Regions from separate parts of the Homo sapiens genome. Here regions 1 and 3 are each linked to region 2. Evidence: promoter capture Hi-C in 16 types of primary human blood cells and fetal thymus (Javierre and others, 2016). All regions are on one chromosome and are shown on one strand. The core of a region is centred on a gene start or on the middle of the fragment in contact, and the rest is flanking DNA. Distances in the headings are between cores, read along the strand shown.

Region 1 (2,773 bases), core at 269-2,768, 750 kb after region 2:
AGACAGCCTCAAAGATGTCTGAGATGCCTTCAGGGTCTTTTCCCATTGTTCTGACTATTAGCACCTGGCTCCCTTTTATCCATGCCAACCTCTTTAGCAGGTGATTGCTCCCCAGCACCATTGGCTTTCTTTACTGAAAAATGCTGTTTTCTTTCACTATCACATGACCAGGTTGTAGATTTGAAAAATTTTTCTGATCTGTTTCCCTTTTCTCTACCAATTCTACAAGTAATGCACTTTGAACAGCAAATGCAACAGACTGAATTACCATCTTCCTTATGACATTGATAGTCTAGTGGTATGATGATGGTGATAGTTATAATTATGGTAGATTAAAATAATTAACAAGTACTGAGCATTTAGTTTGTGCCAGGTACCGTTCAAAGTGCATTACATTTTGTTCAAAGTATATTTGTTGAAGCAACAGAGAGCTTCTATGAGGTGGTTTTCTTTTTCTTTTCTTTTTTTTTTTTTTTTTTTGAGACAGTCTTATTCTGTTGTCCAGGCTGGAGTGCAGTGACGTGACCTCGGTTTACTGCAACCTCTACCTTCCAGGTTCAAATGATTCTCGTGCCTTAGCTGCCTGAGTAGCTGGGATTACAGGTGTTTGAATTACTGCTTAGCTCTTTCTGAACTGCACTGGCTTTGGGTAAGTCACTTATCTTTTCTGCCAGGTTGGAAGAATAATTCTTATCAAATAGGAAATAAATCTGCACATAGTAGTGGCCTTTGCCTCATTACTGGAATGGACCTTCCCTCCATAGTGTTAACAGAATAATAAAAGATTTCTTGACTTTTAGGAAAGGAAGTTGAATGTGGGAGGTATTACTATTTAGCCTTGCTTTGCATGGGGAATCTATTATCTAGAAGCAGAAAGTTCTGTAATATTTGGAATCAACCACAAGGCTATAAAGTACTGGGAGGCCAACAGATTTAATGTCCAGTGAGTCTTTCAAGACTGTGCAAAGCAGATCTGGGAGCTGGTCTTATCTTCTCATATAAGAGGATTGTAGGCAGTGACTTCCATTCTAAATCTTCCTTGCTGGGATTTGCAGTCCTGGGATAAAAGGTTTGGCATTATTGGGCTGGGCGTGGTGGCTCACACCTGTGGTCCCAGCACTTTGGGAGGCTGAGGCGGGCCTCCCAAATCTCTGGATCACGAGGTCAGGAGATCGATACCATCCTGGCTAACATAGTGAAACCCTGTCTCTACTAAAAATACAAAAAAATTAGCTGGGCATGGGGGCAGGTGCCTGTAGTCCCAGCTGCTTGGGAGGCTGAGGCAGGAGAGTGGGGTGAACCCGGGAGGCAGAGCTTGCAGTGAGCCGAGATCGTGCCACTGCACTCCAGCCTGGGCGACAGAGCAAGACTCCATTTCAAAAAAAAAAAAAAGGTCTGGCATTATTGGAAGTGAGAGAGATGTCTTGAGTACTGTCCTGCTTAATCAAAGACTGTTACATGTGATTAATTGAAAGAGCTCTGGACTGGGAATCAGAGGTTGGGTTTTGATACCAATTAATTGTATAGCCTTACATTTTTTGAGTGTTTTTCTTAACTTGTCAAGTGAAAGGGTTACCTGGTTATTCTTAGGGATCTAAGGGCTGCTCCTAGTCTACAGTAGTGTGATGTTTGGATTACATGCTGACTTATTATGTGTACAATAGAGAAATTATGCAATTATCTTTATATTTAAGCAGTGCAGTAATTTCAGTTTTAGACATAAAGCCAATTGGATTTTTTTTTTTTTTTTTTGAGACAGATCTTACTCTGTTGCCTAGGCTGGAGTGCAATGGTGGTATGATCTCACTCACTGCAACATCCGTGTCCTGGGTTCAAGTGATTCTTGTGCCTCAGCCTCCTGAGTAGCTGGGATTACAGGCGTGCGCTACCACGCCCAACTAATTTTTGTATTTTTAGTAGAGTTGGGGTTTTGCCATGTTGGCCAGGCTGGTCTTGAACTCTTGGCCTCAAGTCATCCGCCCACCTTGGCCTCCCAAAGTGCTGGGATTATAGGCGTGAGCCACCGTGCCCGGCCAGGATAGTTTTTTTTTTAAATGAAACCAATGAACTATTAATTTTACTGAATTTGAAATTAAGTTTGTAAACTAAGAAGAAATTCATATGAGTTGTATGTTGTCAGAATTTGTAAGGATAGAGTGAAAACTTGGAGCTGTCCATCTTTGTAGGACATATCAAATGAATGAAGTGACTTTTTGGTGAGGAACGATTTTTTTTTTAACTGGTACATAATAATTGTACATATTTATGGGGTATGTGTGATATTTTGGTACATGTTTGTAAAGTTCAAATCAGGGAAATTAGGATAGAGGAAGGAGTTTTAAATTCTTGGGTTTTTCTTGGGTAGAAAAATGGAGTTAATTATGCCCACATCACAAATTGATGTGTGGATTACAAATGATGATTATATTATAATAAGGCCTATCACTGTTCCTGGCATGTAGTGTTTATGAAGTGATAGTTCTTATTTATTATGAATAAGTTCTCACAGTGGGAAGGAATGAGAGAAGGATGGAGAAGTGCTTGGGAATGCAGTTAGGGGTATGTAGGATGAATGAGAATAGTAAAAGTATGAGGATAATGAGATCAAGGATGCAAATGCATTTTGGTGACAGGTTGGATGGTAATAGTATGGCCAGAAATGCAACCACTGGGAAGGAAAATCAGTTTTCTGGGGGAAGACAGTGAATTATTTTGTTCCTCTGGAGTTTGAAGTGCAGTGGTGCAATCATAGCTCGCTGCAGCTTTGAACTCC
Region 2 (2,822 bases), core at 91-2,590:
TCGCCCCAGCCCGGTTTCCCGCGGGCCCCAGCCTCATCCCCCAAGGCCCCACCCTGAGAGCCCCCAGGTCCCAGCCGCGTCCTCCTGGACCCCTCCCAGGCGTGGCGAGCCGGGTCGCGGGAGCGCTCCGCCACCAGGGGACAGTGCGGCGCCGACCGTGGGCTGCTGGCTCGGCCGAGGGCACCCAGGCGCCCTCCGCTGCAGCGGGCTGGTTGCAGAGGGGCGGGCTCTCGCCAGGCAGCAGGCGCTCCGGGCGCAGCTGGGAGGAAGGAACGCCCCCGGGAGTGGGCGGCGGCCGAGGGACCCTGCAACCGTCCTCCCTGGAGGAGGCCCCCGCAGCTCCCGCAGCCCCCCTCATCCCGGACGGGCCGGGGATTGGGACTGGCCTGGGGTCTCCTACTCTCCTACTCCGCGCAGGAAGTAGCCCCTTGGCAGGACCGGCGGTGCCTGCTGCTTTCAGGAGCCCCGAGCCGCTTTTGTCTGGGTGCAGCTCAGCTCACATCCCCGATGCAAGTCTTTCCCGGCTCGTCTCCCCTTCTTCCCGGAGTCCATGCCTTGCTGTCGGTGACTCATCCCACACTGTGCCCTGCGACTCACCCTGTCGCTTTCTCTGTTCATCCGGGAGCGCGGCGCCATCTCCCTCCAGCCCCGCCTCCCCTACAGTGCTCCGTGCTGAGGTCGCACGTTCTCTCCTCCCTCCAGCTCCCTGGCTCTTGGCCCTTCCCAGGCCACCAGGCGACAGCAGCCTCCGCCTTCATTTCCCTTGGTCATTTCAGGCGCATGCTTGGAGGATTTCAGGATCTGACTCAGCTTCCCCGCCATGCATCCCTCCACCAGCATCCAGTCACACCTCTGCAGCCTTCAGTGTCCTGGAAAGGACTGACCAATCTGACCCATTAGAACCTACCCAGACCAATTTGAAGGCCACTGCCCCTCAACCGTGGCCACCCACTCCTGCCCCACCTGGAGCCCCAAACTGCTCAGTTCCTTCTCTAAAACTCTGCCCTCTTTTGTTTGTTGTGAATAACTGTCTTCCCTGGTTCTTTCCACACCTCTCTGGCCTCTCCTTGTCTTTTTCTGGTTCTTTTTTTCTCTATTCTCCCTTATGCACTGGCCTTGCTGGAGGTCCCTGCTCTCCCTGCAAAACCTCACCACACCCTTGACTTCAGCTATATCCATTTCACCTCACGTTGACATCTGGTGCCTAGACCTCTCTCCCGAGCCTTCCACACCATGCCAAAAATGAAATTCATTTTCTCCTCTAAATTTGCTCACCTTCTTGTTTTCCCAATCTTATTTATTGTCACAGCCATTCCCCTGCTGGTCCAAGTCAGTAGTCTGAGAGTCATGCTAGACTCCTCCTTCCTTATCTACCCATCCACCAATCCCCAAGCCCTGTCTATCCTCCTTTTTTTTTTTTTTTTTTTCCAGTCAGAGTCTTGCTGTGTTGCCCAGGCTAGAGTGCAATGGCACGATCTCGGCTCACTGCAATCTTTGCCTCCCGGGTTCAAGTGATTCTCCTGCCTCAGCCTCCTGAGTAGCTGGGATTACAGGCGCATGTCACCACGCCCAGCTAATTTTTGTATTTTTAGCAGAGATGAGGTTTTGCCATGTTGGCCAGGCTGGTCTTGAACTGCTGACCTCGTGATCCGCCTGCCTCTGCCTCCCAAAGTGCTGGGATTACTGGCATGAGCCACTGTGCCTGGTCATCTATCCTCCTTTTTAAATAGCTCTGCCATGTGTGCCTGTCTCCCCTGACAGCTCACCCTCATCCTATTTGTCCACATTGCTGCAGAGTAGTCTCTTCCATACACCAGGAGTTCCCAACCCCCGGGCCACAGACCTGACTGGTCTGTAGCCTGTTAGGAACCAGGACACACAGCAAGAGGTGAGCCACCAGTGGGTGAGCTAGTGAAGCTTTATCTGTATGTGCAGCTGCTCCCCATTGCTTGCATTACCACCAGAGCTCTGCCTCCTATCAGATCAGGCAGCATTAGATTCTTATAGGAGCACAAACCCTACTGTGAACTGCACACATAAGGGATCTAGGATGTGCGCTCCTTATGAGAATCTAATGCCTGATAATCTGCCGTTGTCTTCATCACCCCCACATGGGGCCAGATAGTTGCAGGAAAACAAGCTCAGGGCTCCCACTGAAAATAAAGTGCACAAGAAGTGTCATGTGCTTGAATCATCCCGAAACCATCCTCTGCTGTCCAAGGAAAAATAGTTTTCCACAAAACCCCTCCCTGGTGCCAAAAAGGTTGGGATGGTTGCCATACATAACTCTGATGATGAGACCACGAAGCTCAGAATCCTCCAGAGGCTCTCCACTGCCTGTAAGATGAAATAAAATTTATGGGTGTGACTTATCCATAAGGGCCCAGTCTAAACTGCCTCATATTTAATTATATAGTAAGCTATTTGTTTCCTCAAACGTATATATTTTGGCCCATTTCCCAGTCTCCTAGGTTGGAATATGCTCTGTGTGTCACCTGGCCAGCTCATGCTCTTTCTCATTCTCAGCTCAAGTGTTAGGGACTCTATGACACCTTTCTTGATTCTCCCAGTCAGACATATTGTTGCTACTTTTTCTTAACACTTATCCTTTTATCCTTGGCACCACTAAAGCACATATCACATCAGATTTCACTTGTTTGCACATCTGTCTGGCATCTTGAGCCCAGGGACCGTGTCGCCTGTCTTCATGTCCCCAGGCCCTAGTGTAGCTCCCAGCCTATAGTGAGTGCAGAATAAAAGTTTGTAGAATGAGGCCAGGCGCGGTGGCTCATGCCGGTAATCCCAGCACTTTGTGAGGCCAA
Region 3 (2,700 bases), core at 158-2,657, 990 kb before region 2:
CATTTATACTGTGGAAATACTACTAACAGTAAAAACAGAAAAACAACACACACATAGCTTAGAAGAAATTATGCTGAGTGAAAAAAAGCCAATCTTAAGCATGTTGCGTGATTTCATCTATGCAACATTGATGAAACATCATTTTTGAAATGGAGAACAGATTACTGGTTGTGAGGGATTAGGAATGGGGGAAGAGGGAATAGGTATGTTCATAAAGTGGTAACATGCGGGACTCTTACGGCTATGGTACTGTTGTGTATCTTGATTGTGATGGTGGCTATCCAAGACAACACAAGTGATAAAATTGCAAAAAGTTATGCCAAACACACACGGGCATGTGTAACTTGTGAAATCTGAATGAGCTCTGTAGATTGTACCAATTTCAGTTTTTTTCTAGTAGCTGTATGTTTAATATTGCTGTAAAGATACACTTTTTTATACAGTTATTGTTAATAATTTGAAGATGTTTATTGCATTCTATTTTTAGTGGGAAAACATGTAACATACTTTTATTTAGCACGACATTGTGAAATACAAAAAACATGTAACTGAGTAAGCAGGATTTTTCTATTCCTAGCCCATTTCTGAGGACTAAATCATGAACTGCTCCCAATGTAATTAAGTATTTCTTGCAATAGTTGGGCACCAAGTTTAAGATTTATTAATTTTCTCCTCTCAGTATAGGCAGCAATTCACCATTTTCTTTCAGCTCTTTCACAATATCCAATCCTCCCACCAGCTCCCCTTTCACATACAGCTGAGGGTATGTTGGCCAATTTGAGTAAGCTTTTAATCCTTGCCGATCTCCTTCATCCTCCAATATATCGAATGTTTCATATTCACCACCAGTACTATTTAGTATTTCCAGAATTTGTTTGCTGAATCCACATTTTGCTTCCTGTTTGTTTCCTTTCATAAAGAGCATCATAGAAGCTTCATTTGTCAGCACTTTGAGCCTTTCCTCTAATTTGGGAGCTTTGGGACAAATTATATCTAGTTCTTCAGATGCGTGTATCTCCTTAATTATATCAAGTCCTCCTATGAGCTCTCCAGAAACGTAGAGCTGAGGATAGGTAGGCCAATTGGAATAGGCTTTGAGCCCCTGTCGAACCTCTTGATCTAAAGACATCAAAACTGCTAAACTAAATATTATGTTTGTGAACAATTTCCACCATCTGCTTGCTGAAACCACAGAGTGGTTCTTGAGGAGTTCCTTTCATAAACAGCATGCAGGGGGCAGCATGAGTCAGTTTCTGTAAGCGAAGGTTGAGATCTTCTTTAAGATGTTCGTCAGTGCTGGGTGGGAAGGAGCCACTAGATGCATGTCGCTGAGCTTTTTTGGTCTTTAAGATGTTCATCAGTGCTGGGTGGGAAGGAGCCACTAGATGTCGCTGAGCTTTTTTGGTCAACTCTGGGATGTGTGCACCATCTAATCGGTCAATTTTCTGAGAATTATTGAAAAACAGAAAAGTGGGAACAGAGCCAATTTCATATTTTTCAGATACTTCAGGAACACCTTCAGCTTCCAACTTCACAAATGAAACTTGAGGGTGTTCTTTAGCTAACTCTGCCATAACTTCGTTCATCTGTGCACATTGTGGACCACAAGGAGGGACTTGGCTTTGAGGCGCAGCAGCTCCTCAAACTGGCCGGCTGAGCTGACCTCTTCTACAGCTGCTGCAGCCGCCTTGCTGCCCCTGCCACCGTGCTGCCGCCACCACCAATTTCAATTTTTCATTTTCGATATTATGCTATAGTCGTTCAGGATGTTAACAGTGAGGGAGTCTGGGGGGGCGGTGCATGAGACATCCCAGTACCTTTTTTTGAATTTTGAAATAATATTTCCTGTGAATCTATAATTATTTAAAAATAAAAAGCTTTAAAAATCTTCAAATAAATAAGCAGATACTTTGGAAGATAAAGTCAATAACATATCCCAGAAAGAACAAAAAAGGCAGTGTGGAGGACAGAAGGAGAGAAGGGAAGGGAAAAGATAAGAAAATTAGAGAATCAACTCAGAGGTGCATGATATTAGGAATTCCAGAGAGAACAGAGTAAACAAAGGAGAAGAAACTAAAATAATAAAAATCTACACGAACTTGAGAACATGTGCTTTTGTACAGAAAGGGCTTCCTGAGTGCCCATTGCAGTGATGCAGAAAGGCCCAGCACATCGGAATGACCTTTCAGAACACTGAGAGGCAAGGAGAACATCTGTGCTGGATTGCCTCTTGTCAACCTGATGACACCACCGTTCTTCTGAGGTTGGGAACTATACTTCCCAGAATTCTGTTCCCAAGGTGGCAGGGATGGAGCTGAGCTTAGGCTCGGTGAAAGTCTGATTTGCAAATGGCTCCTGCAGGGTGCCCAGCCTGCCAACAGCAGAGACAAACATTGAGCCCATGATGTGGCACTGTTATTTGGGGGAATCAACAGTTTAAGTAACGTGGACCATTTCCATCTTGCCAGAAGCACTGCTTTGTTCTCACTGGAGATGGATGGATTGCCCTCCCTGTCCACAGTGGTTCCTCCAAAATGGTCATCTCTGGACTTACTTACAGAATACCTAATGTATGATAGTGGCACTCTTCCTAGCTTTGCTTCTGACAAGGAACTGATTTCACAGCAAATGAAGTGCAGCAATGTGCTCACGAAAGCATGATGTTGTGAATGCCTTTATTTGGAATTCACTGGTCTTACC

Evidence for each region. The method cuts DNA at HindIII sites, captures the fragments that hold promoters and counts their contacts. A CHiCAGO score of 5 or more calls a contact.
Region 1: a contact is called between a fragment that was not itself captured here and the fragment with the promoter of LINC01011 in region 2, in 1 of 17 cell types (neutrophils). The highest score is 6.6, in neutrophils.
Region 3: a fragment that was not itself captured here is called in contact with the fragment with the promoter of LINC01011 in region 2 in 1 of 17 cell types (fetal thymus); the score reaches 5.1 in fetal thymus.

What each region holds. Positions count from the first base shown.
Region 1 is chr6:2,238,309-2,241,081 of GRCh38, reverse strand. All of the region lies in intron 1 of GMDS (GDP-mannose 4,6-dehydratase), which reads left to right. Among named protein-coding and RNA genes, the nearest start is that of GMDS, 5.9 kb to the left of the region's middle. The HindIII fragment of the contact is 4,332 bases long and covers 1-2,773 here.
Region 2 is chr6:2,986,485-2,989,306 of GRCh38, reverse strand. LINC01011 (long intergenic non-protein coding RNA 1011) reads right to left here and starts at 1,340. Exons shown (of 3, transcript NR_026856.1): 1 at 1,276-1,340. RefSeq lists a silencer at 1-395 and enhancers at 1-588, 589-1,398. The HindIII fragment of the contact is 2,996 bases long and covers 1-1,919 here.
Region 3 is chr6:3,977,061-3,979,760 of GRCh38, reverse strand. It overlaps the pseudogene GLRX3P2. Among named protein-coding and RNA genes, the nearest start is that of PRP4K, 43 kb to the left of the region's middle. RefSeq lists a silencer at 1,172-1,466. The HindIII fragment of the contact is 944 bases long and covers 936-1,879 here.